Linked DNA regions of Homo sapiens: all the other regions are linked to region 3. Evidence: promoter capture Hi-C in human tissues and cell types (Jung and others, 2019). All regions are on one chromosome and are shown on one strand. Each heading gives the region's core, a stretch centred on a gene start or on the middle of the fragment in contact. The rest is flanking DNA. Distances are from core to core; before and after follow the strand shown.

What was found. Contacts are between HindIII fragments. The study calls those that stand out against the background at their distance.
Region 1: a contact is called between the fragment with the promoter of AGPAT2 here and the fragment with the promoter of DPP7 in region 3, in 2 of the 25 tissues and cell types used here (heart left ventricle and mesenchymal stem cells).
Region 2: a contact is called between the fragment with the promoter of DPH7 here and the fragment with the promoter of DPP7 in region 3, in 1 of the 25 tissues and cell types used here (lymphoblastoid cells).
Region 4: a contact is called between a fragment that was not itself captured here and the fragment with the promoter of DPP7 in region 3, in 1 of the 25 tissues and cell types used here (dorsolateral prefrontal cortex).

What each region holds. Positions count from the first base shown.
Region 1 is chr9:136,682,348-136,689,725 of GRCh38, forward strand. AGPAT2 (1-acylglycerol-3-phosphate O-acyltransferase 2) reads right to left here and starts at 5,110. Exons shown (of 6, transcript NM_006412.4): 1 at 4,829-5,110. The coding sequence starts at 5,010. RefSeq lists enhancers at 1-265, 3,715-4,576 and silencers at 4,297-4,866, 5,087-5,286, 5,757-5,836. The HindIII fragment of the contact is 28,065 bases long and covers 1-7,378 here.
Region 2 is chr9:137,574,568-137,581,584 of GRCh38, forward strand. DPH7 (diphthamide biosynthesis 7) reads right to left here and starts at 4,358. Exons shown (of 9, transcript NM_138778.5): 1 at 4,058-4,358; 2 at 2,903-3,036; 3 at 1,513-1,600; 4 at 185-276. The coding sequence starts at 4,210. RefSeq lists enhancers at 870-1,164, 1,094-1,903, 4,638-5,609, 4,704-4,763 and a silencer at 4,044-4,453. The HindIII fragment of the contact is 7,311 bases long and covers 1-6,819 here.
Region 3 is chr9:137,113,078-137,120,026 of GRCh38, forward strand. It overlaps DPP7 (dipeptidyl peptidase 7), which reads right to left and starts at 1,656. Exons shown (of 13, transcript NM_013379.3): 1 at 1,570-1,656; 2 at 1,386-1,499; 3 at 1,166-1,305; 4 at 788-951; 5 at 284-419; 6 at 129-210; 7 at 1-42. The coding sequence starts at 1,636. It overlaps LOC124902314 (a long non-coding RNA gene), which reads left to right and starts at 1,722. Exons shown (of 2, transcript XR_007061874.1): 1 at 1,722-3,967; 2 at 4,094-4,701. RefSeq lists silencers at 1,352-1,501, 1,532-1,881. The HindIII fragment of the contact is 20,655 bases long and covers 1-6,949 here.
Region 4 is chr9:137,413,288-137,420,309 of GRCh38, forward strand. All of the region lies in intron 1 of EXD3 (exonuclease 3'-5' domain containing 3), which reads right to left. Among named protein-coding and RNA genes, the nearest start is that of EXD3, 6.4 kb to the right of the region's middle. RefSeq lists silencers at 1-4, 4,410-4,679 and an enhancer at 4,098-4,924. The HindIII fragment of the contact is 3,396 bases long and covers 3,707-7,022 here.

The DNA.
Region 1 (7,378 bases), core at 3,860-6,359, 430 kb before region 3:
CCTGTGCCAAACACCCTGCCTCACTCAAACTCCCCTCCCACCAACCACAGGCGGACGAGGGGCTGCCCTGTCCTTTCCTCAAAGCCTGGGGCAGGTGTCGCTGTGCCAGACCAGGACACAGTCACACGGACCCCAAATCCAGGTCCTGGACTCCTTGCCTCCCCGGGGAGCAGGGGCAAAGCCAAGGTTGCCGGAAGCCTGGAGCTCAGGGAGCCCTGCTGGCCACTGCCAGGCGGGTGACTTGTGCCAGCTTTGCCCAGCAAGGCAGGAGGCCCAGGGAGCAGCCCAGCACCCAAAACTAAGTGAGGCTGAGCCCAGACTGGGCCCTTCTGGTGGCATCGGAGCAGTGGGCTCCTGCTGAGGGAAAGCCCAGGTGCTGCCTCAGTCTTTTTCAGGAGCCCTCAGACTGGAGTCCACTGGCCTCGAGCGAAGCCCCGTAAGAGACCCCTCTGGGGTCTGCAGGAACCCAGCCTCCTCAGACCGCCTGAGCTCAGCCCCCAGGCACCTGGGCTGCTCCCACACTCAGGCTCTGGGCCTGACGGGGATTTGGATCCCATTTCCCTTCTTCCCAGCTATGGCCTCGGGCAAAGCATTTGACCTCCCAGGCTCTTGTGGAAGGGTGTGCAGGCTTACATTCTATGAGGCGGAGACACCCGGGGCACCATCGGGCCAGGGCAGGACCTCCACCAACAGTGGCTGTGATGGGGATGACTAGGGGGTGGGGGGGAGGGGGGGAAGAATCCAAAATGGGTGGGGCCGGGCACGGTGGCTCATGCCTGTGACCCCAGCACTTTGGGAGGCTGAGGCAGACGGATCACTTGAGCTCAGGGGTTTAAGACCAACCTGGGCAACAGAGCGAGACCTTGTCTCAAAAAATAAAAAAAAAAGTCCAAAGTAAATCGAAGCAAAAGGCCCCTCAATGTGCCTAAGCCCCCAATCCCACCAGCACCTGGCTCAGGCAGCTGGGAGGCGGTTCTAGGTCAGGGCCCAGGCCACTGGCCAGGCTGTCCTCGTGGAAGGCCACTCGCTGACCCTTGCCTTGGTCCTGGGCTGGGACACTCCCAGGAGACCCAGCAGCTCTCTGAGCCAGGACTTGCCCATCTTCAGCTGCGTGAGCTCATTCAGGGCAGCCCCCTCCCCCTCTGCTGGGGCTCGCTGGGGCCACCGGGGACAGGGACCCCAGTGAGGAATCTGGTGTTTTCCGACAAGTGTCATCCAAGCTGCAGCACAAGGCGGGATGGGTCCATAGGGGTGCGGGGTCCAGCCCACACAAACACCCGGATGTGGGGGGTCCCCGTGACTCCTCAAAGCGGATGTGTAGGAGTGCAGGTGTGGCGGGCGGGAAGGAGGTGGGGCCAGAGAAGCCCTCCCATCCCTCAGTCAGGACAGCTCCAATTTCTGGGCCTGCACAGAGACACCTGGAGCGCTCTGGAGGACCAAGGTCACGGTCTCCCTTGGGACTAAGACCCCAGTGCTGTGGTGACACAGGGCCCCCGATGGCATCTGTCATCACCGGACATCTGTCAGAGGACCCGGGACCATGCACTGGCCGGCAAATCTGGGTCAAACCTTGCCCGACATCCCAAGTCCCCTGTGCGTTCTCCCCACACTGGGCGTGTGGTGTGGGCACGTGCTCCATGGGGACAGGAGCCTGCCCTGCAGCCAGGAGCTGCCACAACCACTAGGTCCCGGCCTCCAGATACCAGCAGAGCGTGGGGTTCAATTCGGGGAGCATCCTTAAGAGGAAGAGCACCCCTTTTCTGTCTGGGACCCTGAAAATGGTGGGAATAGAGGTCAAAGGAGCCGGAAACTAACTGCTGTTTCCCTAGGCTGCCCATCTGGTCTCCTTTGCTGTATGAAAAAGTAAACTTCTCTGTGGATTAAGCTGCTGTCTTGAGGGTTTTCTGATCCTGTAGCTGAACCCAGCTGTAGGACACGGAGCCGCTCTGGGCTTTGCTTTCCTCTGTCGAATGGATGTACCAGGGCATCGGCCCCTGGTGAGGAAACGTCCCCTGCAGCTCCACCGTAACTGCGCACACAGGGAAGGGCTCAGGGGACACCCCCTGCCTGGAAGGGGTCCGTGGTCTCAGCCCCAAGCCCGGTGGGAACGAAGGCTGCCTCAGAGGTTCTAGTCCCATCACTGTCCCTCACACGCTCAGAACTACGGTGTAGACGGTGGGGGTCTCTTGGGTGCCGCCTGGAACCCCGTGGGGAGGGGCTGGGCCTCAGCCAGGGCAGCCATTGCTCAGGGGCAAGATGGAGCGCCCCTCCCAGAGCTCAGGCCTGCCGCAGGGCTGCCTCACCAGCCCCAAGCGCTGGGCTGGGAACAAGGGGAAAGGGAAAAGCAGGTACTCTGGAGTCACTGTCAGTGGGTTCGAACCCCAGTTCCACCCCATCCTGGCTTGGGGACCCTGCCCCAGTTTCAAGTTGCTTATCTCAGCCTCAGTGTCCTTATTTGTAACACAGAGCACACGCGAATCCCTGTTCCTGAGGCTGGAGGCACCCGTGGCGTACAGCAGGAACAGAGGCCGAGTATCCCCTCCTTCCCTTCCAGCCCCCCGGGTCCCTTCCCTGGAGTGACAAAGCGCCTGCTCTTCATCTGCCTTTCTCACCCCTCCCGACGGCCCCCACGGAGGGAACGCACGTTCGCAACAGCCCCACTCTTAGCCATTGCTGGGAGTCTTGGAAGTCATCAGGGACCCTGGGGCCTGGGGAGCACGTGCAGAGGTGTGGGGGAAGGTAGCCATGGAGCCCCAGGCCTCTCCTCCAGACTGCCCTGCCCTCTGGCCCTCCCTTCTCTTCAGGGACCAAAGCAGGAACAAAGCACCTGCTGTTAGTAGCCAGTGTCCCGGAAGCCACTACTCCACAGGCCTGAGCCTGGGTGCTGCCCTGGAGAGGTGAGGGCGGCAGGAGGGTCCCATCCAAGCACCATCAGAGGCCCCAGGTCCCGAGGACACCCAGGTTAGCCAGAATCTCCAAGCTGAGATGGGGACAGGGCCCAGTGGGGCAGCAGGGCCAGTGCCAGCCAACCCAGCCTGCCAGGTCCATAGAAAGGGCAGCAGGTGAACTGTGATTTGGTCCCTGGAAAACAGCTAGGAAGTCCAGGCAGAGGCCCCTGCAGAACAAGCCAGGCTTTCTCACACGAGGAGGCCGCCGATGAAGAGGCCCGTGGCCTGTGGCCTGGCTCAGTAGTGGGGTCTGCTCCAGGGTCTCCTAAGTCAGGTGCCCCATCATTTCTGCCAAAAGAACAGGACCCCGTCCCCTGTCCACACCCCAGGACACGCCCAGCACAGGATGCCCTGCAGGCATCAGAACCACACAAGCCATTTCCTCGGGGTGGGGGGCACCCCAAGGAACCCACAGACTGGCCCCTCCTCAGCTGGGAAAGCCGCACCCTCGCCCCTACTCTGAAGCACCCCAGGGGCTGAGGGGGGCCCCTCACAGAGACCCCTGCCTACAGGGGATCCCAGGGCCAGAACCACAGGTGAGGCCTTCACAGATTCCAGCACAGGTGCCCAGAGCCCAGCCCCCAGGAACTCCCTGTTTCTGCAAACTGCCTTCCTCGCTGAAGGGTGCTCCACTGGGGACGTCAGCGCCAGTCACCACCTGGGCCAGCCCTGGAGTGTGCGCTCCCCGGGACCCCGGCCTGGGCCACCTGGCCCACATCACCACTGGTCACACACGTCTGGCTGAGCAGCCAGCAGGCCCTTCTCGGACTCTCCATGCTCACCATCAGGCCCAGGGTCCTCCTTCATATTCCTGGAGCTTCTGGGGCTCCGTTGGAAGCCATGACTGTAGGCCCGTTCCAGCAGCCTCAGTGCCCTCCCAGGGCTGGCAAGGACAGCGAGTGCAGGGAGCTAGCAAACCCTCACCCACTGCCCCTGGAACCACGGGGAAGGGGGCCTCTGGGGCCACAATGCCCCCACCCCAGGCCATTGCAAAAGCCACTGGCTGGGCAGTCCAAACAGGGCAGGGAGAAATGTAGCAACAGCCTGGGGACGGCTAACAGGGAGAGGGGGCAGGCAAGAGCCTTCTCCAGCAGCCACCCCGCCCAGGAGCAGGCAGCCCCCGCCGTCTTTGGCAGCCCAGTCTGACCTCTGGCCCCCAACCCCAGCCTGGCAAAACCAAGCTCCCACCTTCTGGAAGGCGTCCAGGGGAAAATTTCAGCCCCGCCGAACCCTAGTCCTAACTCTTCCTTCCCTTCGCTTGGAAGCTGGGCCCCCGGAGCTGTAGGCCAGGGGCGCGCTCCCCAGCACGGAAGCAGGTCCCCTCCGGGTCCCCCACCTCCCTGCGAAGAGGAAAGGGAGAGAAAGGGGAACCCGCCCCACAGGTGCGCCCATCACCGGGCGGACAGTCAGGAGGGGGTCGGAGGGAGGCCGAGGGGTGCCCCCACGCCGTCGTGCGCCCTGATCAATAGCCCTGGGGCAAGTCCCCGCCGCCCCGGCCTCGGTTTCCCCGCTCAGGAAGCAGGGCTGAGCCTCTCCCAGCGCGGACCGGCCCCCTTTCTCTCCGAAAGCTGCTCCACCCCCGGAACCCCACGCCGGGCTGCAGGGACGCGGCGGAGGCCGAAACCGGTGTAGACGCCCGGGGCCAGGGCGGGGGGTGGGGTGCTGGGCACTGTGACGCCGGCTCCTTGACCCCGTGACTCCGGGACCCCCTGACTCCGGGACCCCCTCCTGTGCCTGCCGCCGGCCCAGGCGCGCTCTCCCCGGAGCCCCGGAGCGGGGCGGGACGGGCGGGGCAGGAAGGAGGGAAGCCCAGAAGAAAGTTAGGGAAGCGGAAGCGGCGCGGCGGTTCCCCGGCCCCTCCCGGCGGCCCCCGGCCTTGCCTCATGTTCTCCACCGTCCGGCCGCCGTGGCGCAGCAGGCAGACGAGCGAGGCCACGGCGGACACCGTGAAGCACAGCGCGCAGTACAGGGCGACCTTGGCGTAGAACTCGGCCGCGCGGCTCAGCTGCACCAGCAGCAGCAGCAACAGCAGCGCCGCGGCCAGACACGGCCACAGCTCCATGGCCCGGCCCGGCGCCCGACGGCGCCGCCAGCTCGCTCCCGCTCCCGCTCCCGCTTCTCCCCCGCGCGCTCAGGCCCCTTATTGCGAGGGCGGCGGGGCTGGGCGGGGCGGGGCGCGGCGTGGGGGAGGAGCGCGCGGCAGGGAAGGGCTAGGTGCGGCGCCCCGCCCCGACACTGTCCCCAACAACGCCCCGACACGGTCCCCTCACCAGGCCCCGCCCCGCCACTGTCCCCAACCCCGCCCCGACACGGCCCCCCCTTCCCGCCCTGGGTCACCCGGCCCGGACCTCCCCTCCACGCTCCCTCCCCACAGCCTTCTGCCAGGTTACCGAGGCTCTGGCGCTCTGCTCCCACCCTCCCGGTCCCAGGGGACCCCCCCATCATGGCTTGCCGGTGGCTCGGGCTCTGGCGCTGCCCCCCATGGTCTGGGCCTCCTGCCCCGCCCGGTGCCCCCTCCCCCCGCTGCCGGGGCAGCCACAGGCTCCCGCGCGCAGAACCACAGCTCCCCAAGGGCGTAAAACCAGCGGGGATGCGCCCGTGCCAGGCCGGTGGCCACGCAAAGGGCCGCCGGAACCGCCCCCGAGTGACCAGTGGCCACCTGGCAGAAAGCCTGGCTCTTAGGGTGTTCTCGGTCCCCTGCGGGGAGACTCGTGGGGGCGCGCAGGCCAACTGGGGCGTGTGTCTGGGCGGGGCTGGGTTGCCCCACCCTGGGTGCCAGAAGTAGCCTTGTCACCAGGGACGCTCCGGGGGCAGGCGAGGTGGGTGTCAGGTGGCGGCGTTCACATCCGCTTGGCAGCACGGCCAGCGTGGCAGGGCAAGGTGCAGCTGGGACAAGGGCAGCAGTCACCTGGCCCGGCCCCCACCCGGCGTCCCACCTCAGGGAGCAGATGGAGATTGAAAAGCAGTTTCCTGGGGTCCCTCCTCATAGGGACTCTTGGGTTTGCTGCAGTTGCGGGAGTGCTGGCCGCCCTGCGCTCTAACGGGTCAGCAGGGGAGCACGGCCCCTCTTTTTTCAGATGCAGAGTTGAGCTGTTAAAACATTTCCCTGAACATTGTAACCACCCCCCAAACTGTACTGAGAGAATGACAAATACAGAAACTGCTCTTCAAATGAATGGGGAACTGCGGTCCTGAAGGACGTGGGGTCTCGCTGCCTGGGCTCAGCAGCCCCTGCCCAGGCGGTCCCAGCTTTTCTTGAAAGTGGAGACACATCCTTTTGCCTTAGGCCTGTAGGCATCTTACAGCGAAACCCAGGAGAGCATTTTCCAGCCCAGTCTCCTTCCAGATCCATATGGGCTTCATCTGGAATCAGCTTGGAGGGCCTGGCTTGACCTCTTTCCACGCTTGGAGCCGGAACTGCACACCCCGCAGCCGGGAGGTCTGAGAGCTGCACTGCTGTGCCTCTGAGAGGCTGAGAGGTGGCTGCTGACGGCTGCGGGGTTTTCATCTTCCAGGGCAGATGAGGTGGGTGCACCCTGCAGACAGGAGTGCCGCTGCCGGGAGCTGGGGGATGCGGGGGTGTGGGCTGGGGTCCCAGGTGGACTTCCTGGAGGAGTGGGGCTTCACAGCACCTTCAGCTGGAGGCTCTGTGCACCCAGGTCCCGAGCAGGTTGTACCCTGGCTGTGGAATCCAGTCCTCACAACCATCAGGCCTGTCCAGGGGCTTTACATGCCAGCCCCCTTCTTGTCCTTTACCTCCCAGCCCACCGACCTTTCCAGGGTGGCCACCATCTTCCTGCACCCCTAGGTGACTGTGTGTGTGTTGGACACCTCTCCCTCCTCTCCTCCCCCCGGAATGGAGCCCGTGGGGCCTCATCTGTTTTGTGCACCATGTGCGACCAGCACTCAGGCCAATGTCTGGCACATAGCAGGTGCTCAGCACACACTTTCCATAGTAGCAAAGGCATCCCCATTTTACAGAGGGAAAACTGAGGCTCTCAAGGGTGAACACCAGACAGCCGGGACGTGACAGAGGAAAAGAGGCTGACTCTGAGCCGGAAGACTCCTGCCAGGGCTGGCAGGAACAGTGCCAGGGCAGCACACGGTGACCCTGTTGCCTCCCCAGACAAGGTGGGGTTTTGCCCACTGCTCTCCTGAAGAGGGTGAGACCTAATTTCACCTCCTCCCTCTTCTCTGCACCTTGCAGAAGTGTTGAGAGAAACGTCCACTTTTCCTCCGACAAGATCCAAGAGGAGGCGGGCCAGGGACTTGGGGAGTGATGAGGAAGTACTGTGTATTTTAATATAATGCCACATTTGGGAAGCTAACACATTATTTGTTTCTAGAAGTAAAGCTCCAGAGAATCTTATGGGCTGGCAGAGATGCCAAGAAAAGAGATTTTCTTCTTCTTTTTTTTTTTTTGAGACGGA
Region 2 (7,017 bases), core at 3,108-5,607, 460 kb after region 3:
AAAAACACTATCGCTATGTATCTAAAATGGGGGACCTTTTTTTCATAATAGGACTGGCAGTGATGATGTCAGGGCTGAGGAGCACAGTCGCAGCTCGCTGAAGGTGGCTGGAGCCCTCTAGCCTGAAAAGTGGAAGTGGTTCTCAGAGAAAGACTCAGGACCCCTGACCAAGCCTGGCCCTTACCTTCCAGTTTTCCCAGTGGACCAATCTAGGGACAAAGCCAGACACTGCTCCTCCAGGGCAAGGCTGGACAATGGCTCCAGCACGTGGCTCTTCTACTGGAGAAGAAGAAACTCCATCAAAGGGAAGTAGCCGCCCCAGAACCCCCAAAAGACTTTTCCTCTCCTGCAGGGAAGTCATCGTTCCCTCATTTACAACCTATGCGAATGAAGTACATCAGTCACTGAGTCACACCTCCACCTAACACTGAAACCCCTGCTAGGGGCCCCGAGAAGACCTGGGGACACTGGAGCTCACACTCCTCACACTTGCAGGACAACTTTCCCACAGGCTTGATCTTGGGGCATGGTCTCCCTCCCTTTCACACCCCCTTGCCATCCTTGCGCTCCTAGATGCTGTCGAGATGCCTGTGCAGGCTCCAGACCACAGTGGCACACACAGTTTCCCACCCCAGGCCTCCAGGGCCACTGGAACACTCGCCTCCCGAGACAGAGACAATGGGGAAACTCCTCTGGTTTCCACTTCAGAAGCCGCGAGCAGCCATGAGAACGTGGTTGCTCTTTATGCAGATCTATATAAATTTCATTTCCTAAACAGCCTGGCCAGTGCTTAACTCCATCCCTGCTCCCAGCAGGCTGCTGTACCAAAGCCCTTTCCTGGGTTCATGCACTCCTCCCTTGGGCCCACAGCTTTCCTGTGGCTGCTCTTTCCCTCCTTTCTAAGACAGGGCAACTGCTCTAAGCTGCCTTAAGCAAGGCCTTTTCCTACACAGGCCCTCGGTTGGCCCAGCCCCGCCTGCAGCATCTGCATCGGAGTGAGGGCGTGGTTTCAGGCTGTTTACATCACCCCACTACGGGACATCCCCGTTCTCCTCCCCGACAGCTATCAGATGAAGTCACTTTGTTAATGCATGGCTCCAGAGCACTGTGAGAAACTCGGAAAAATTCACACAGGACTCACGTGCTTTTCCAATAATCAGTGAGAAATGCCATCTTCACACAGGATGCTCACTGCTACTCTGGGCCCCAGCATCAACCTAAGAATGCTTGCCCAGGCTCTCCTTAGAGAACTTTCAGATCCACTGACAGGTCAATGAACATCCTGTCACTTCAGCCCTTCTGCTGGTGACACATGAGGTGACTTCCTCTTGGAGTTGGATGTAGAACGCAATACAACTTAAAAATAGACTCCACATTATCTTAGAACGTTTATATATAGCTCACCATTGAAGAGAGATCGTTTTAGAAAAATGTCTGTATCAGCACAGCCTCCTCCCCAACCCTCTCTATTCAGGTCCCTTCTGCCCCACAGAACAAGTGCAAGTCACTGACCTCAGATTCCACCAGGCGGAGCAGTTGTATGGATCCACTGGCATCTGCCAAGCCCAAGAGGGCATGTCCAGCCACCGGGATGTGACACCTGAGGAGAGGGCCCACCATAAGCACACCAATGTGCCCGGAGCACAGGCGTGCACTGTGCGTCCCGGTAACCACAGTCACGCTTCCCTTAACAACGGGGCTGCAGTCCACGCAAACCCAGCTGGGACATCCTACTACACACCTTGATTATATGGTATGGCCCACTGCTCCTATGCCACAAACCTTACAGCATGTTACTGCAGGCAAGTGTGACACAACAGGAAGTGGTTGTATATCTAAACATAGAAAAGATACAGTAAGAATACAATATAAAGGATAAAAAACAGGTGGCCGGGCATGGTGGCTCACACTTGTAACCCCAACACTTTGGGAAGCTGAGGTAGGAGGATGACTTGAGGTAAGGAGTTCGAAACCAGCCTGAGCAACATAGCAAGACCCTGTTTCTACAAACTAACAAACAAACAAAAATGAGGTGTGGTAAGGCCAGGCGTCGTGGCTCACGCCTGTAATCCCAGCACGTTGGGAGGCTGAGGCGGGTGGATCACGAGGTCAGGAGATCAAGACCATCCTAATAACATGGTGAAACCACGTCTCTACTAAAAATACAAAAAAATAAGCCGGGTGTGGTGGCGGGCGCCTGTAGACCGAGCTCTTAGGGAGGCTGACGCAGGAGAATGGCGTGAACTCAGGAGGCGGAGCTTGCAGTGAGCCGAGACCGCGCCACTGCACTCTAGCCCGGGCGACAGAGCGAGACTCCGTCTCAAAAAAAAAAAAAAGAGGCATGGTGGCATCTACCTGAAGTCTGAAGTCTCAGCTACTCGAGAGGCTGAGACAGAGAATTGCTTGAGCCCAGGAGTTCAAGGCTGCAGTGAGCTATGATCACGTGACTGCATTCCAGCCTGGGCAACGGAACAAAACCCTGCCTCAAAAAAAAAAAAATTAAAAAGGATAAAAACTGGTACACCTGTATAGGGCATCTCCATTACGTTAAGGCACCACCATGGTATACGTGCTCCATTGTTGACCAAAACATAATTATGCCACACACCACTGCATTTAAATCTCAGCTCCAAAAGTGGGCTAGAGCCTACAACTGTGTTCTCAAACAAAAGACGCCCCAGGTTATGAAGTCAGAAAACTCCCATCACTTCCCCGGCTGGAACATGACAAAGGAAATAAGCCCCAGGTAAAGCACTCCCCAGGTGGAAGATAGGCGGGACAGCAAAGAAACAAATCCAAAGTTGAGATGCAATGCCTGTCTTGTTGAAGGCATCAGGCATCAGGCTTCCCTGATTGCTACTCATGACAAATTCTACACCCAGTGGGATTATCACAGTTATACCATTTCATGTCCAGGATTGCAGAAGTATCTTTTCTTTGGACCTCGACCAGAGGGTGAATAGAGTTGTTGTCATTGAAACTGTACAGGAAGAGACGGCCTAAACGGACCTGAGGCTCCTTAACTTCCATTCCACCCTACAAAAAATGCAGAGGTAGTCTCTGATTATCCCAAGACACGAAGGAACCCAAAGGATGGGAAAAGGGATCCAAGGAACTCAAAGGTTTGCCATGACTAAAGGAGTGGAATTCTGCCTGGAAGGAGAACCTCTGGTTTTCTGAGCTGGAGAAACGTCTATTAATGAGTAGGTGAACACTCCTGGACCCAGTAGAGAAGGCTCCTTCTAAACCGGCCAACAGGGACCAGCTATGGCTAGGGTAACCACAGAACCCAGTTTGCCTGGGACAGTCCTGACTTACGCCTGTTGTTCCAGTGCCCAATTTGGATCCTAATATGTACCCACCAGAAGTTAAGATATAATTCCCACTTTCTCTTTACTGTACATTCCACCCATTCCCTTGGGCCACACCTGTATATAGAAGACGTTCTGCTCTCAAGATTTTAAAGTTGGCCGGGGGCGGTGGCTCGTGCCTGTGGTGCCAGCTACTCAGGGGGTTGAGGCGGGAGGATGCCCTGAGCCCTGGAGTCCGAGGCTGCACTCCAGCCTGGGTGACAGTGCAAGACCTTGTCTCAGAAAAAAGTAATTTCTTTTTTTTGAGATGTAGTCTTGCTGTATCGCCCAGGCTGGAATGCAGTGGTGCGATCTCGGCTCACTGCAAGCTCTGCCTCCCGGGTTCACGCCATTCTCCTGCCTCAGCCTCCCGAGTGGCTGGGACTACAGGCGCCGCCACCACGCCCGGCTAATTGTTTTGTATTTTTTTAGTAGAGACGGGGTTTCACCATGTTAGCCAGGATGGTCTCGATCTCCTGACCTCGTGATCCGTCCGCCTCGGCCTCCCAAAGTGCTGGGATTACAGGCGTGAGCCACTGCGCCCGGCCGAGAACAATTTTTTTAAAAAGATTCTAAACTGTTTCCAGCCTACCTCCTGGCCAAAGGGCCAATATCCCCTCTTCATCTCCTGGGCGATTCGGTGCGCCTTTCGGCCTCAACCTCGTGGCCGGCCCCGCCCTCCCCTCCCGAAGCCGCGGCGCGCGCACCTTGTTCTGGGGGCCGGCAGGCCGGTCCTCCGGCCGCCGCAGCTGGTAGGTCCCGCACGCCAGCAGGTGCCTGCAGCCTTGCAGCGGGCACCACTCCACCGAGTCCGCGGTCAGCTCGGTGTCCACCGTTTGCAGGGCGAAACAGCCCATCATCCAGCCCTCGGGGAAGGGCGCGGAGCCGGCAGTAGAGGCGGGTCGGCGGGGCCGGGCTGGGTACTGCGCGGGGCGGCGAGGCCGGGGCCGGCCGGACGAGCGCAGAGCCCCAGGGACACCGTCAGCGCGGGCCGCCTCTCTCGCGACTCCTTCCGGGGTGCCGGGGCGGGACATCCGGCAGGGCCTTGGCCTCCGTGGACGCCCCTGGGAAGCCAGGCTCCCACGCCCCCTGTCGGCCGGCTGACCGCGGCGGGCTTCAGGCGTCAGACGCGCTGCTCCCTGCGGGGCCGTAGAGACCGAAGGCTTCGGGAAATCCGCTCCTCCACAAAGCAGGTTTGGAGACGGCAAGTTAGTGACAGAGCCGTAGGTTTGAAGCCGCCTCTGCAAAATTTCTATCACTGAGAAAAACCCCAACAGCGAGCTGCGGTAGCGCACCCCGTGGCGCCCTCCCGGTTACTCCTGGCCATCGGGCCGCGCTGACTTAACATTTAGGCTGCAGTTTCCATGACAGGCCTTGCCCCGGAATCAACGCCTTCGTAAAGCTGATGAGGAGCCCGCGCCCCACTAAGCCCAGCACCCCGAGGCCGCAGGCGCGCTCTGCCTGCCTCCTGTGAACCCGCCATGGCGGAGCTGCCCCTCAGAGACCGCCTTCCAGGGTCTTTGCTTGTCTGACACCCGTGGCTGCATCAGGACCCCCCAGAAGCGGCTCAGCAGGTGGACGGCTCCGACCCCTATGATTATCAGCACCAGTCGCCTGGCCGCCGCCCCCCTCCCCCAAAACTGCCTTTGAAAAAACCCCTAACCTAGGAGCTTTGGACAAGATGATCTGAGGACGAACTCCATCTCACATGTGGCCTGGCCGGCCCGTGTCTATTAATTTTTTTGTTTTTTTTTTTTGAGACGGAGTCTTGCTCTGTCACCCAGGCTGGAGTGCAGTGGCGCGATCTCAGTTCACTGCAAGCTCCGCCTCCCGGGTTTAAGCCATTCTCCTGCCTCAGCCTCCCCAGTAGCTGGGACTACAGGCGCGCATCACCACGCCCAGCTAATTTTTTGTATTTTTAGTAGAGACGGGGTTTCACCGTGTTAGCCAGGATGGTCTCGATCTTCTGACCTCGTGATCCACCCGCCTCGGCCTCCCAAAGTGCTGGGGTTACAGGTGTGAGCCACTGCGCCCGGCCCTAAACTTTTTTTCTTTATTGCAATCCACGGTCTGAATGTGTGCAGCGGGCAGGAAGAACCCCTTGGGCCGTTACAGGTTGAACTGTGCCCCCCAAAAAACAATGGACTGAAGACCCCAGCACCTCAGAGAGCATCCTTAACAAACAGGGGCTCTCAGAAGCAGCAGGCGTGGGCCCTGACCCAGAGGAGCAGGAGTCCGCAGAAGAGAAAGCTGATGCAGAAGACTTGCAGGGCCATTGCTGTGCAGAGCACAGGGAGGCAGGCAAGGCACCTGGCAGGGAGGAGGCGTCCGCACCTGAGGGCCCTTGCCTGCGCCTTCATCTGAGACTCCGGCCTCCAGAGCCTAGACTGTGAATTCCCGCTGCTTCAGGCTGCACAGCTCGCGCTGCTTTGTTGCGGCAGCTCCAGGAAGCTAAGGCGGACTTGACTGAAATATACGGGTGCCTGGGTATTCAGCCTCAGGGCTTCAAGCAGGGCTGTGGCTAAAGACATGGCAGAGAGCCAACAGCTCAGACCACCACAGAGACAGAGGCGCAGAAAAGGCTGGCCAGGAAGGCAGCAGGGCATTCCAAAAGGGCCTCAACCACACACCTCTGCGGGGGAGGGAGAGTGACCAGGTGCGCATCCCAACACACCACACTCCAAACAAGCTTTAGAAGCAGCCCCACATTGCAGCCATCTGGATGTCCTCACAGGACGTCTTAGATACCTGGCTACGAAGACCAAGAAGTCGGGGCCACGGAACGGGAAAGATGACCAGAGGATTGGGTATCAGGTGAGAGGGAAGCAGTGGTGGGGCCCGTCCCACCCTCACGGTGCCACCTGCTGGGGTGAGGCCTGGAGGAGCTGCCACATGCAAACCTAGAACCTGCACCGCCCCCTTCCCCAGCGTGGTGTCTCACAGGTGGGAGGCCCTGGGCGCTTCTTTCAGTGCACTTTTCTGATGAATGACTGCCAAACAAAGCAGCCCTGCTGGTCAGGGGCAACATGGCCACACCCCTGGATGCAGGTAAAGGGGACCCCTGCACTCCGTGCTCATCCTCAGACTCTATCTGAAAGCAGGCTGCCTGAGGGCACTCGGGGCTCCAGGCCTGAAGACTGCCCCAAACCCCAACCTGCTGACCCGCCATCTCTAGGGACACATATGTCCCCCTCCCTGGCAGCTTTCACCTACTCAGCAAAAAATGTCCCCAACCTTTGCAGCAGCTAAGGGGGCTTCTCAGGGCCTGATGTGGGCACATGCAGTTCTCTAAGCTCCAGGAAATCCTGCGGAGTTTGTTGATATCACCCATTTTCAGCAGTCCTGTTCTTCAGGAGCCCCCAGGGTACTGCCAGAAAAGGTACTGGAAGTTTTGCTTACAGACAAAAGCCAGCCCAGCCAGGGGCAGCAATGAGAACACACAGGGTGTCCTGGAACATGGCAGTGGAGCTTCAAGAAGGGAAAGTGTAGCAGCAACCTGTGGGACCAACACAGGGTCGGACCGGACCAGACCAGACAGGTCAGAGTCGGACTGGCCAGGCTTCCAGCTCCCAAGAAGCAAGGCCTCTGGCTGGGCGCACCTGGAGACAGGCAGGATCCCAGCCACACAGCCTGGCATGTTTCCCTGGGGCAGCTCTATGGGTACAAG
Region 3 (6,949 bases), core at 406-2,905:
GCGGCTGGCAGGTGCCGAACTCCCAGCGGACCGTGTCGTAGGCTGCGTGGAAGGGGCAGAGACTTGAAGTTTGGGCATAGCTGGCGCTGGGGCGGGTCAGGCAGTGGGAGGCGGTGGGAGGACCTCACCTCCCTGTAGGAACAAGTCCTTGATCTGTCGGAACGCTTCCCGCACACCCTGGGTGCATTTGGGACTCTGGCCCTCAAAGTCCTGGGGGAAAGAGACCGTGCTGACTGCAGCTGCTGTCCCTTAGGGGGCCTGGAGGACCCCAAGCCTCACTCACCGCCGTGACGTCCCGGAAGAACTGGTTGGAGTCGCCGAGGCCTGCCACAGCTAGAACGGGCGCGCTGGCCGCCAGCGCCCCCGCCACCAGGTGGGGATACTTCATCCTCAGGTAGGCACTGAGCATCCCCCCATAACTGGGTGAGGGACACAGGGTTAGGGCTGCTGCCCCCAACACCCCATTTCCTCTTTTCCTCCTCAGGGGCCCACAGGTGCCACAAGGAGGACGACACTTCTGAGACCCACAAATTCCAACCCTGGGCCAGGTGCGGGTGCAGCTCTCACTGGGAAAGGCCGCTAGTGTGGCCGCACATCCAAGCTGAGCAGGTGGCTGGGAGGACAGGTGGGAGGGCTTCCTGGGGGAGGCAACACTAAGCCTGGAACCACTGCCTGAGGCCTTACGAAAAGGCAGCGGTGGGAGTCAGAGGGGAGTGGGGAGAAGGGCTGGGGGCGCTGGGTCGGGGCAGGGGAGGGAGGGGGTGCGGAGGCCGGGGGAGGCGCCCACCTTCCACCGAAGGCGATGGCGGGGGCATCCTGGGCCCCGAGGTCGCGTCGTAGCGCGCGGAGCAGCTCTGCGAAGTCGGCCAGGGCCTGCTCCACCGTCAGCAGCTCCGTGTGCCCGCGCTGCGTGGACTGCGCACCGAACGGCAGCGACTTCCCGTAGTAGCGCTGGGGGAACGTGCCATTGAGCCCGGCCCCGCGACCCCGCCCGGCACCCGCGTGCCCCGCGACCCCCGCCCGCGACCCCGCCCGGCACCCGCGTGCCCCGCGACCCCCGCCCGCGACCCCGCCCGGCACCCGCGTGCCCCGCGACCCCCGCCCGCGACCCCGCCCGGCACCCACGTGCCCCGCGACCCCGCCCGCGACCCCGCCCGGCACCCACGTGCTCCGCGAAGACCAGTAGAGCCCCCCGCTCGGCCGCCAGCTCCGCGACGAAGGCCGAGTTGTTGGCGAAGGCCCACACGTCGCCCTCGTTCCCAGTGTAGAAGAAGATGGGCCCCTCGCCCCGGACCCAGAACCTGTCTGTGGGGAGGGCGGATGAGGCGAGGGTGCCGGGGGGCGGCGGGACGGCGGGGGCGGCCGGGCCGGGGCCGGGGTCTCACCCGACACCAGGAAGCGCTGAGGGAAGGTCTTGTTGCCGAAGCGCTCGAAGTTGAAGTGGTCCAGACGCTGCTGGAAGAAGCGCTCCTGGAAGCCGGGGTCCGGGGCCCTGCGGGCTGTGGGGGGACGCGAACCTCAGAGGCGGGGCCGGGACCGGGGAATGGGCCGGGGGGCGCCGCCACTCACCCCCCGCCTGGAGGCCGCGCAGCCCGAGCGCCAGCAGCAGGACCGGGGCCCAGGGAGCGGAGCCCATGTCGCCTTCCGCGGGCGCCCGTCACGTGGGCGGGGTCACGGGGCCGCCAGGGCGCGCTCCTCCCTCCAGGCCCCACGTGTTTCGGGCGCCCGCGGTCCCCACGGAGACCGTCGCTGCTTCAGCGCCGCGCCGGGGCTGTGCCCCCCAACACCCCGCGCCCCGCGGCCGCTGCCCAGGGGTCCTTCCCGGGCACGGCGCGGGGAAGCAGAGGGCCCCCGGGCCATCTCCGCGGCCTCCCGCCCCACTGGCTCGTCCTCCTACCGCGGCCCCATCCGGAGCTGCGCTAGGGCGAGTCCCTGCTGCGCCCGCCAAGCCTCCCCAGCACTTGCTCCTGGCAGGTGCCCCACTCCAAGGCAGGGCCGGGAGAGTGGGGGCCGTTCTGCTGCCCTAAGGGCGGGAGGGAGAGGGTCCCAAACAGAGTGCTGGCCCCCCGAAGAAAGCAACCCAGGGTTTGTCCAAGCGATAACGGGCTGGGCTTGGCGGGGCGGGGCCTCGCAGCGGGCAGGAGTGTGGGGTGCCCCTGGAGCGTCTGGGCAGGGCCGGGATGTGGCCGGGTAGCTCCCAAGAGCTGGGAATCGCCACCTGCCCTTCCGACTGGCACCCAGTGTGCCCACACAGCCCTGCAGGGACAAGGGGGGACCAGAGGCCTCTGCTGGGAGCTGGGGCCTCCTCCCTGGGGAGCACCCAGAGGATGGAAGAAGTCACCTTTCCCCAGCGTCCAGTTCAGGGAGTGGGTGAGGGGGCCGTAGTGGTGGGTGCCAGACTAGCTACGTGGAGTCCTGCTGGGGATGTACATGGGCCGCTAGCCAGGCCCAGAACAGGTGCAGGGGCAGCAGGGGCTCAGCTACAGAGAGTTACCCTGTCCTTCTCCCAAGACTACCCTCGGCCAGCATGACCCTGCCCTGCCCATCCTGTGTGGGGCTGAGCGGAGAAGACCGGCCACTTCCACAGCCCCTCACGCCATGGCCCTCCCGTGCCTCACACAGAGGCACCCCCCATGGTGGGTGACTGGTGGCTGGGGCCCTCAGCATGGTGGCAGTGACCATCACGTCACACTGCAACACGAGGTCATCCAGGGCCACACACCGTCCCCACCACGGCCCTCACATCTGGGCCCTGTCCCATCCCTACGCAGTTCCTGGGGCTGCCTGCCGGGGCCCCCGCAGGACGGGGGTGAGGACAAACAGCAGACCTCCTTGGATGTGGAGGTACCCCACGGCGTCCCCCACCCCACACCTCTGCTCCTTTGGCTCCCTCGGGTGCCTTAGGTGGCCAGAACTCCACCAGCAACCCTCACCCAGGACCGCAGCTCTGGAGACGCCAGCTAGGCCGAGAGCTGGCCAGCTCCCCAAGCACACCAGAGCCTGGAGACGCTCCAGGCTTGGCTGGGCCCACAGAGGGGCCAGAGCCTCAGGGAGGGCTCCAGGAGCAGGGTTTCCAAGGAAGCCACTTTCCCTCTTGTCCACGGCCCAGGCATTGATGCCCCTCTGGGCAGCAGCCAGGGCCTCCCAAGCCGGGAAGGGTGGGCATGGGGCTACCCAGCATGGCTCTGCCAGGGGTGAGGGTGGCCACAGTCCCCTGCCCACATCCCTGTGCCCACAGAAACATATGCTGTATGGAATCAAGGTTTAAGGCATCTAGGCCTGTGCTGGTAACCTGTAACCTTAGCCCCATCCCTGTGCCCACAGAAACATGTGCTGTATTGACTCAAGGTTTAGGGGATTTAGGGCTGTGCAGGATGTGCTTTGTTAACAATGTGTTTGCAGGCAGTATGCTTGGTAAAAGTCATCGCCATCCTCCATTCTCCATTAACCAGGGACACAGTGCACTGCGGAAAGCCGCAGGGACCTCTGCCCAAGAAAGCCTGGGTATTGTCCAGGTTTCCCCCCAGTGAGACGGCCTGAGATATGGCCTCGTGGGAAGGGAAAGACCTGATCGTCCCCCAGCCCGACACCCATAAAGGGTCTGTGCTGAGGAGGATTAGTGAAAGAGGGAGGCCTCTTTGCAGTTGAGATAAGAGGAAGGCTTCTGTCTCCGACATGCCCCTGGGAACGGAATGTCTCCGTGTAAAACCCGATCGTACATTAGTTCTATTCTGAGACAGGAGAAAACCGCCCTGTGGCTGGAGGCGAGATATGCTGGCGGCAATGCTGCTCTGTTACTCTGCTACACTGAGATGTTTGGGTGGAGAGAAGCATGAATCTGGCCTACGTGCACATCCGGGCACAGCACCTTCCCTTCAAGCTATTTGTGACACAGATGCCTTTGCTCACATTTTCTTGCTGACCTCTGCTCTGCTGCCGCATTCCTCATGCAAAGATAGTGAAAATGGTAATGAATAAATACTGAGGGAACTCAGAGACCGGGGCCGGTGCGGGTCCTCCGTATACTGAGCGCCGTCTCCTGGGCCCACTGCCTTCTCTATACTTTGTCTCTGTGTCTTATTTCTTTTCTCAGTCTCTCATCCCACCTGACGAGAAACACCCACAGGTGTGGAGGGGCTGGCCACCCCTTCACTGGCACAGCAACCTGACATGTGAAGGGGCCCAACTTCTGCAGGAGGACCCCAGGTCTGCATCGCCAGGGCCCTCGTCAGCCTGTGCAGGGCACAGTAGGTCACCCAAGGGGCAAGTGAGCCTAGGCTGCCCATGCCTGTGCAGACACCCCCGATCTCTCTCTGCCCATCCCCGGAGCAGCACAGACGGGCAGGTTGGCTGCAGAGCCACCAGCTGAGGGGGTGAGAGGTCCCTGGGCAGGGAATCCTGGGAGCCTGGCCAGCAAGGGTGAGAGGCTGCTGAGCCCAAACCCTCCCCTCGAGGTCCATCTGCCCTCTCCAGACCATCTAGGCAGCTCCTCCACACCCCGATTCCTGCTGGGACACCCAGTCCCACCCTCTATGGCTCACAGACTGGGGGCCATGCCCGGCCACACATCACGTCTGTGCTGTCCCTCAGACTGAAAGGCTATCGGCGGGCGGCTGGCCGTGACCTACTGCATCCGCACTTGGGGCCGTGCTGGTCTGTGTGCTGAATTATACATAATATAAAATTGACCACTTAACCACTTCCGCGTGTGAAATTTGGTGGCATTAGGTACATTCCTGCCTTCACAACGCTGTGCACCGTCATCACTATTTTCCACTATCTCATCACCCCCAGTAGAAACTGTAGCCATTAAACAATGGACCCCAGCCCCTGGCACTCACCATTCTACCATCTGTCTCTGTGGCTCTGCTGACTCCAGGTACGTCATATCAGTGGAATCCTACAGCATTTTGTCCTTTTTTTTTTTCGAGACAGAGTCTCACTCTGTTGTCCAGGCTGGAGTGAAGTGACACGATCTCGGCTTACTGCAACTTCCGCCTCCTGGGTCCAGGCCATTCTCCTGTCTCAGCCTCCGGAGTAGCTGAGATTACAGGCACCCACCACCACGCCTGGCTAAATTTTGCATTTTTAGTAGAGACAGGTTTTCAGCATGTTGGCCAGGCTGGTCTTGAACTCCTGACCTCAGATGATCTGTCAGCCTCAGCCTCCCAAAGCGCTGGGATTACAGGCGTGAGCCACCACACCCGGCCTGTTTTAGCCATTGTGAATATTGATGCGATGAACATGGCTGTGAAATGCCTGCTTTTTTTTTTTTTTTTTTTTTTTTTGAGACAGTCTCGCTCTGTTGCCCAAGCTGGAGTGCAATGGCGCAATCTCAGCTCACTGCAAGCTCCACCTCCCGGGTTCAAGCAATTCTCCTGCCTCAGCCTCCTGAGTAGCTGGGATTACAGGCGCACATCCACATGCCTGGCTAATTTTTGTATTTTTAGTAGACACGGGGTTTCACTGTGTTAGTCAGGATTGTGGGTGGCAAGCCACTCAGGTGCCAAGGCAAGAGACCGAGGACATGAGCTGTTCCAGTATAATAAAATATAAAACAAGAATAGTTATACCAGATATAGATCTTAGATATGATTATATATGAATATAATTAATCATTAGTAGTACTTATTCTTTATTCCAATATTATAATAATCCTCACTCTACAATCATAACCTAGGAAAAACCAGGCCATACAGAGATAGGAGCTGAGGGGACATAGTGAGGAGTGACCAGAAGACAAGAGTGCGAGCCTTCTGTTATGCCAGGACAGGGCCACCAGAGGGCTCCTTGGTGTAGCGGTGATGCCAGCATCTGGGAAGACACCTGTTGCCAAGCAGACCATGGTCTAGCAGTAGCGTCAGTGTCAAGGGAAAACACCTGCTACTTAGCAGACAGGGAAAGGGAGTTTCCCTTTCCCCTGGGGAGTTTAGAGAAGACTCTGCTCCTCCACCTCTTGTGGAGGGCCTGACATCAGTCAGACCCGCCCGCAGTTATCCGGAGGCCTAACCGTCTCCCTGTGATGCTGTGCTTCAGTGGTCACACTCCTAGTCCACCTTCATGTTCCATCCTGTACACCTGGCTCTGCCTTCTAGATAGCAGTAGTCAATTAGTGAAAGTACTAAAAGTCTCTGATACGCAGAAATAATGGCGTAAGCTGTCTCTCTCTCTGTCTCCTCTCCCTCTCTCTGCCTAGGCTGCCAGGCAGGGAAGGGCCCCCGTTCAGTGGACACATGACCCACATGGCCTTACCTATGACTGGAGATGGCTCACACTCTTTACCCTGCTCCTTTGTCTTGTATCCAATAAATATCAGTGCAGCCTGCCATTTGGGGCCACTACCGGTCTCTGCGACTTGGTGGTAGTGGTCCCCCTGGCCCAGCTGTCTTTTCTTTTATCTCTTTGTGTTCTGTCTTTATTTCTACACTCTCTCATCTCCACACACGGGGCGAGACCCACTGACCCTGTAGGGCTGGTCCCTACACAGGATGGTCTTGATCTCCTGACCTCATGATCCGCCCACATTGGCCTCCCAAAGTGCTGGGATTACAGGCGTGCGCCACCATGTCCAGCCTGTGGTTTTGATTTGCATCTCCCTAACGATTAGTGATGTTGAACATTTTCCCTGTGTTGACTGGCCATTTGTATGTCTTCTTTGGAAAAATGCCTATCAAATCCTTCGCCCATTTTTGAATTGGGTTGTTTTTTGTTGAGTTTTATGATTTTTAAAAATCATCTGGATTGGCCGGGCATGGTGGCTCACGCCTGTAATCCCAGCACTTTGGGAGGCCGATGCGGGTGGATCACGAGGTCAGGAGATCAAGACCATCCTGGCTAACACAGTGAAACCCCGTCTCTACTAAAAATACAAATATATATATATATATATATATATGTTAGCCGGGCGTGGTGGTGGCTGCTTATAGTCCCAGCTACTTGGGAGGCTGAA
Region 4 (7,022 bases), core at 4,155-6,654, 300 kb after region 3:
CCTCCCGGGTTCACGCCATTCTCCTGCCTCAGCCTCCCGAGTAGCTGGGACTATAGGCGCCTGCCACCACGCCCGGCTAATTTTTTGTATTTTTAGTAGAGACGGGGTTTCACCGTGTTAGCCAGGATGGTCTTGATCTCCTGACCTTGTGATCTGCCCGCATCAGCCTCTCAAAGTGTTGGGATTACAGGCATGAGCCACCGCGCCTGGCCTAGCTTTTTTTTTTTTTTTTTTTTGAGACAGGGTCTCGCTCTGTCACCCAGGGTGGAGTGCAGTGGTGCGATCCCAGCTCACTGTAACCGCCTCCTGGCTCAAGTGATTCTTGTGCCTAAGTCTCCTGAGTAGCTGGGACTACAGGCGCCCACTACCACACCCGGCTAAGTTTTATATTTCTGGTAGAGACGGGGTGTTGCCATGTTTGGCCAGGCTGGTCTTGAACTCCTGACCTCACGTGATCCACTTGCCTCAGCCCAGAACATTTTCATTGCCCCAAAGACAACCAACCATGTGCCCATCAACAATTACTCCCTCTGCCCCTCCTCAGCCCCTGGCCATTTTGTGTCTCTGTGAATCTTTCTATTTTGGGCATTTCCTATAAAGGAGACCACACAGGTTCTGTTGTTTTTTTTTTCTTTTTTTTTTTTTTTGAGACGGAGTCTCACTCTGTTGCTCAGGCTGGAGTGCAGTGGTGCCATCTCGGCTCACTGCAAGCTCTGCCTCCCGGGTTTACGCCATTCTCCTGCCTCAGCCTCCCGAGTAGCTGGGACTACAGGCGTCCGCCACCACGCCCGGCTAATTTTTGTATTTTTAGTAGAGACGGGGTTTCACTGTGTGTTAGCCAGGATGGTCTCGATCTCCTGACCTCGTGATCCACCTCCCTTGGCCTCCCAAAGTGCTGGGATTACAGGCGTGAGCCACCGCGCCCGGCCAAGGTTCTGTTCTCTTGTGGCTGACTGACCTCACTTGGCATGGTGTCTTCAAAACTCATCCCTGCAGCAGCATGTGCTGGAACTGCCTTTCCGTGGCTGAGTCCTGCCCCACTGTGTGCACAGACCACGGGCTGTTTGTCCAGCAGACATTCGGGCCGCACCCCCTTGTCTGGCTGTTATAAACAGTGCTGCTGTGAACAGCTGTGTGCATGTTTCTGTGTGGAGTGTGTTTTCACTGATCTGGGGACACACATTCCTAGGACTGGAGCTGCTGAGTCTCGGTGTTTCTATGTTTAGCTTTTTGAGGAACTACCAGACTGTTTCCACAGTGGACGTGCCATTTTACGCTAGCATCGATAACACACGAGGGTTCTGATTTCTCCACAGCCTCACCAACGCCTGTTGCGGTCTGTCTTTCGTTTTTTTAAACTTACCAATTTAACTTAAGGATTGTTCCTTTCCTTAACAATTAACATGACCAATTTTAAACACAAAAAGTAACTTTCCAGGGATATTGCACAGGAGATGGAGAAGGAGGCCAGCAGGTGTGACAGGTGTGGGGTCCCACACCGCCACTCCAGGGGGGTGCTGGCATGTTTGGCCCCCGTGGGCTCCACGTAGGTCGCAGGGTTTCTTTGTATGTTTGTTTTTATGTTTTTGAGATGGAGTCTCGCTCTGTTGTCCAGGCTGAGACGGAATCTCACTTTGTCGCCCAAGCTGGAGTGCAGGGGGGCGATCTCGGCTCACTGCAAGCTTTGCCTCCAGGGTTCAAGTGATTCTCCTGCCTCAGCCTCCCGAGTAGCTGGGATTACAGGTGCCTGCCACCACGCCCAGCTAATTTTTGTATTTTTAGTAGAGACGCGGTTTCATCATGTTGGCCAGGATGGTCTTGAACTCCTGACCACAAGCAATCCGCCCACCTCGGCCTCTCAAAATGCTGGGATTACAGGCGTGAGCCACTGCGCTGGGCCTGTCACAGGTTTGTTTTTTTTTTTTCTGTTTTTTGAGATGGAGTCTTGCTCTGTTGCCCAGGCTGGAGTGCAGTGGGGCGATCTCAGCTGACTGCAACCTCCGCCTCCCGGGTTCAAACCGTTTTCCTGCCTCAGCCTCCTGAGTGGCTGGGATTACAGGCATGCACAGCTAATTTTTGTAATTTTAGTAGAGACAGGGTCTCTCCATGTTCGCCAGGCTGGTCTCGAATTCCTGACCTCAGGTGATCAGCCTGCCTCGGTCTCCTAAAGTGCTGGGATTACAGGCAGGAGCCACTGCTCCTGCCCAGGCTGCGGTTTTGAAGGACACCTTCCCTGTTCACCGTGTTGGTTTTAGCTCTGCGGCAAGCTTCTCTGTGCACCCCACCTCCCTGCAGCTCACTGCCCACAACACATGGATGTACCATGGGACAGCTGCAAGGACGGGTCAGGTGGCCCATGGGCTCTGGGGAACCCTTTCTGGGAGGTGCCAACAGCACATGTTGGGGTCACCATCACAGACGGGGCTGGGGCCAACAGTCCCCCATCAAGGGTGGGCTTTCCCAAGGACCCCAGTTCTGATCACACAAGGTAGAATCTGATGAATGATAAACAGCATTTAAAAACCATGTTTTATAAAAATACTTAATGGCATGGGAAAGGGTTCACAGAGCAGCATAAAGTCGCGTTGCCCTAAGGGGATCACGCTGCACGGTGCAAGGTCCCTTCTCAAAACCAGGCAGATGCACGTGTGAGGGCCTGGCTGCTCTGCCGACGGTGCCTCTGTGCTTTCTGTTTTGTATTTTCTGAATACTACACAATGTATACACCCTGGTTTGTATTCATGAACAAAGAAAAAACCATGAATGATATTTTTGAAGGTTAAAACTAGGATGGGATCTTAGCCTTAGCACCTCCACACCTCACCCATGGTGACAGGGCCTCTGCCTGCCGCCGGCCACTGCCAGCCACACCTGGGACCCACAGCCAGGGCTTTCGCTCTTCTGCAGTGCCTGAGGGCCAAGAATTCTGCGGTGGCTGGCTGGGTGGCCGCTCCACCAGGGGGAGGGCACTGCACGTCTCAGTCCTCAGCAGCCCGAGGTTCCCAGAGTGAGGGACCCACAGGGACAAAGGGGCGGACTTGGGGCCCTCACGACCTATCTCCATGTCACACAGCCTCTGCCACCTTCCCATCAGGCCGGGCACCCCCAGGTCCAGCTCACACTCCACCGCAGCTTCTGCACAGCCAGGGAGGGACCGCCGGCAGCCCACCGCCTCACCTCCCAGGTCTCCACCAGAAACATCCGGCCGGCCCAGCTGACCCCCGGGCAGGCGCCCGGAACCTCGCTGGTCCCCGGGCAGGCATCCGGACCCTCGTCAGCCCGGCTGCTGCTTCCCAAAGGTCCTCTCCACCCAGGACCCTAACACGTGCTGGGCAACCCGGCTCAGAGCATCATCCTGCGCCACGCCAGGCGGCCACCCTCTGAGGAGGATGGGGACGGGACACATCCAGGTCACACCGAGGTGGCACCAGGCGGTTCCAGGACCTGGTTCCCCGTGACACAAGGATCAACACCAAGGGTCGGTAGGCCGTCCCGCAGCCTAGCCTGGGGCTGTCGCGAGCTCGCAGGGGTGCTCTTGGAGGCGCCCCGGGCAGGAGCCGCTCCCACCTGGAGCAGAAGGGAGCAGGCCCTCCCTGAGCTGGGCTCGGGACTGATGACGGTGCGGCCGTCAGGAGGCCAGGAAGCCCCGACACCTCCCCGTTTCCCGACAGACGCGGCCAGAACACGCCCAACTCCACGGGAGGGTCTGACCAAGGGGACCCCACCTTAGGATCTCCTCGGCCTCCCTGTGGGCCTCAGAACAGGCGGAGGCGGCAACGGCAGGAGAGGGCGACCCTCGTGACGACCGAGCTCCCGGGCAAAGCCGGGGCCGCGTTGCGGGGTTTCATCCCCGAGGGAGGGGCGCCCACCAGACGCCGGGGGAGAAGTCAGGTGGGCGGTGGGAGACACACGGGTCTGGACTCGCACAGAGGACGCGGCCACGGACTCACGCGGGCGCCGCAGGGACGGGGATGGCCAGTTTCCCACGGCTTGTCGTGAAAATGGGAAAGGCGGCGGGTGGTGAGCACAGCACACCCCGGCAGCGCCCAGGCTGCCAGGAAGCGAGCGCGCCCGCAGAGGCGCCAGACGGGTCCACGGGTGAGGCCGAACCTGACCACGGGTTCCGCGGCGCGGAGGCCCCTGCTGACCGCATCTGCACGGAGCCAACGGCGCGAGGGGCGGGAGGCGGCGTGGCCACACCCCACAGCCCACCCGTTCCTCGGAAAGTCGAACACAGCGACCACGGGCTCTGGCAGTTCCTCTCCCGGGCAGAGACCACGGGGACCAGCAACGCGCGTCCGCACAAACTACCCCAGCCGCGCTGCGCGTGGCGGCCGCAGAGGAGGAACGGCCGAGCGGAGGAGGAGGCGCGCGGCCACCACGCGGCGGAGCAGCTTCCGCCACGAACGGAACAGGAGGTCGGCGCAGGCGACATCACCGACACCACGTGTGCGCCCCGGGCACACCGGCCACTGCGCTGGGCCCTTCCCGCCTCCTTCAAGCGCAGGCCGTGCCGCGGGCCGGTCCTGCCCAGGGCGCCTGCGGGGGAGGCCGGGCCGTCAGGCGGGGAGGAAAGGACAGAGCCTGAGGATCTGAGGAGCCCGTGGGTGAGGGGCTGGCGGGGCCGGAGGGGGTGAGCTGCAAGGACTGGGGTGGGACCACGGAGGGGACGGGTGAGCCTCGGGGACGCACGGTCACTGGGAGGCCGAGGACCCCCGGGGCTGGCAGGAGGTCTGTGCCCTGGGTGATGCCACTTCTCCTATTAATCTCCTTTTGTGGCCGGGCGCAGTGGCTCACACCTGTAATCCCAGCACTTTGGGAGGCCGAGGCGGGCGGATCACCTGAGGTCAGGAGTTCCAGACCAGCCTGGCCAACATGGTGAAACCCCATCTCTACTAAAAATACAAAAATTAGCCAGGCGTGGTGGCATGCACCTGTAGTCCCAGCTAACTCAGGAGGCTGAGGCAGGAGAATCGCTTGAACCCGGGAAGCAGAGGTTGCAGTGAGAGCCGAGACTGCGCCACTGCACTCCAGCCTGGGCGACAAGAGCGAGACTCTGTCTCAAAAAACAAACAACAAACAAACAAACGTCTGAGTCATTTCTAAGTAAAACACTGAAACATTAATTACTAAGCGTAAGTTTAAGCTTATATACTTTAGTATCTTATTTTTATATGGCATAGGAAAGCTAAATATATTTACATCTGTTAACAAAAAAATTTAGGAGATGCATCTCTGTAAAACATGATGAAATGGTTTCCATCTACACATACAGTTCAAAATTACTCGCTGAGTTTTTAACGGAAAATTAGGGTCACGAAGTTAACACTGTAATTAATATATGTAACTGAAACTACTAAATATAAGAGAAACAATTCTGTACGTGAGATGTATAAGAAAAGCAGAGTTTGTTTTTCTTTTGAACAACATTTCGTGTAGTAATAAGAGATTGTAAAATATTTTTATCTTCTGAGTAAACAGAAAAAAAAAAAGGGGAAAGAGGGAGAGACATTCTGTTTGCCTCACGCTGTCTTTAGTAGGTCTATTGATTGCTTGGGAAACTAAGTCTCCTCTCTGTCATAGTAAAGGTTTTTGGTTTGGGAAATCTCTGAATTACCAATTTGATTAAATGAATGGCTTATTTTACAGTGACCTGTGGTCCTATTTTGAGATTGTTTTAAGCCTCTGATATTTGACTTCCCAAAACCAAATTTCAAGTCCTAACATTAAGGGTTTTTTTCACCTGAACTAACTTGGATATAACAAATAGGAACCCCGAGAAGTCCAAGGGAGATGTACGAGGCTTATGTGGTATGTTAAAATCATACAGGAAGCATTGTCAAATGTGGAATGCTGTTGGAGTTATATTGGTATAAATGTATTATTAACATATGTTCCAAAATTGTATGAGATTCCTAAAAATTCTGACATGTCTTGGTATATGTTATCAGTCGTGATTACGATTATATGTTAAACTGTTTTAACCTCAGAAGTAACCAAATTCCCTGCCAATCGCGTCTTCACCCATGGCTACTCTAAGTCTTTTGTCATCTGCAGAAAATTACTGTTTTACTTTGATTCTTCTCAAAATGCAGTTTAAGGCCGGGCACGGTGGCTCATGCCTGTAATCCCAACACTTCGGGAGGCTGAGGCGGGTGGATCACTTGAGGTCAGGAGTTCGAAACCAGCCAGGCCAATGTGGTAAAACCCCGTTTCTACTAAAAATACAAAATTAGCTGGGCATGGTGGCTCATGCCTGTAATCCCAGTTACTTGGGAGGCTGAGACAGGAGAATCGCTTGAACCTGGGAGGCGGAGGTTGCAGTGAGCCAAGATCGCACCACTACACTCCAGCCTGGGCAACAGAGCGAGACTCCATCTCAAAATAAATAAATAAATAAAATAAAATAAGGTACAGTCCAAAATTTGCATTTTCTTCAAGGAAATTCATGGAAAGGACATTGACAAGTATACAGACTTCCGATAACCTGGGAGATCACACCAGTAGACCAGATAAAAACTTCCAGGACTCTTATTTAAAAGCTGATGCATTCATGAGGATTGTTAACCCAACATCATACAGAAAAAAGCGGCCGGGCGCGGTGGCTCATGCCTGTAATCCCAGCACTTTGGGAGGCCAAGGCGGGCGGATCACGAGGTCAGGAGATCGAGACCATCCTGGCTAATACGGTGAAACCCCATCTCTACTAAAAATACAAAAAAATTAGCCGGGCATGGTGGCAGGTGCCTGTAGTCCCAGCTACTCGGGAGGCTGAGGCTGGTGAATGGCGTGAACCCGGGAGGCGGAGCTGGCAGTGAGCCGAGATTGTACCACTGCACTCCAGCCTGGGCGACAGAGGGAGACTCCGCCTAAAAAAAAAACAAAAAAAACCCCAGCAAATTACATAGAACTGAACTGATAGAGGCCTGAAATGCTTTTTATGATTTTTTGTTGTTATCGAAACCTTGCTGACTCTTTTTATATTTTGTTTTCCAGAGTCAGAAAACCTTTTTCTTTTTGAG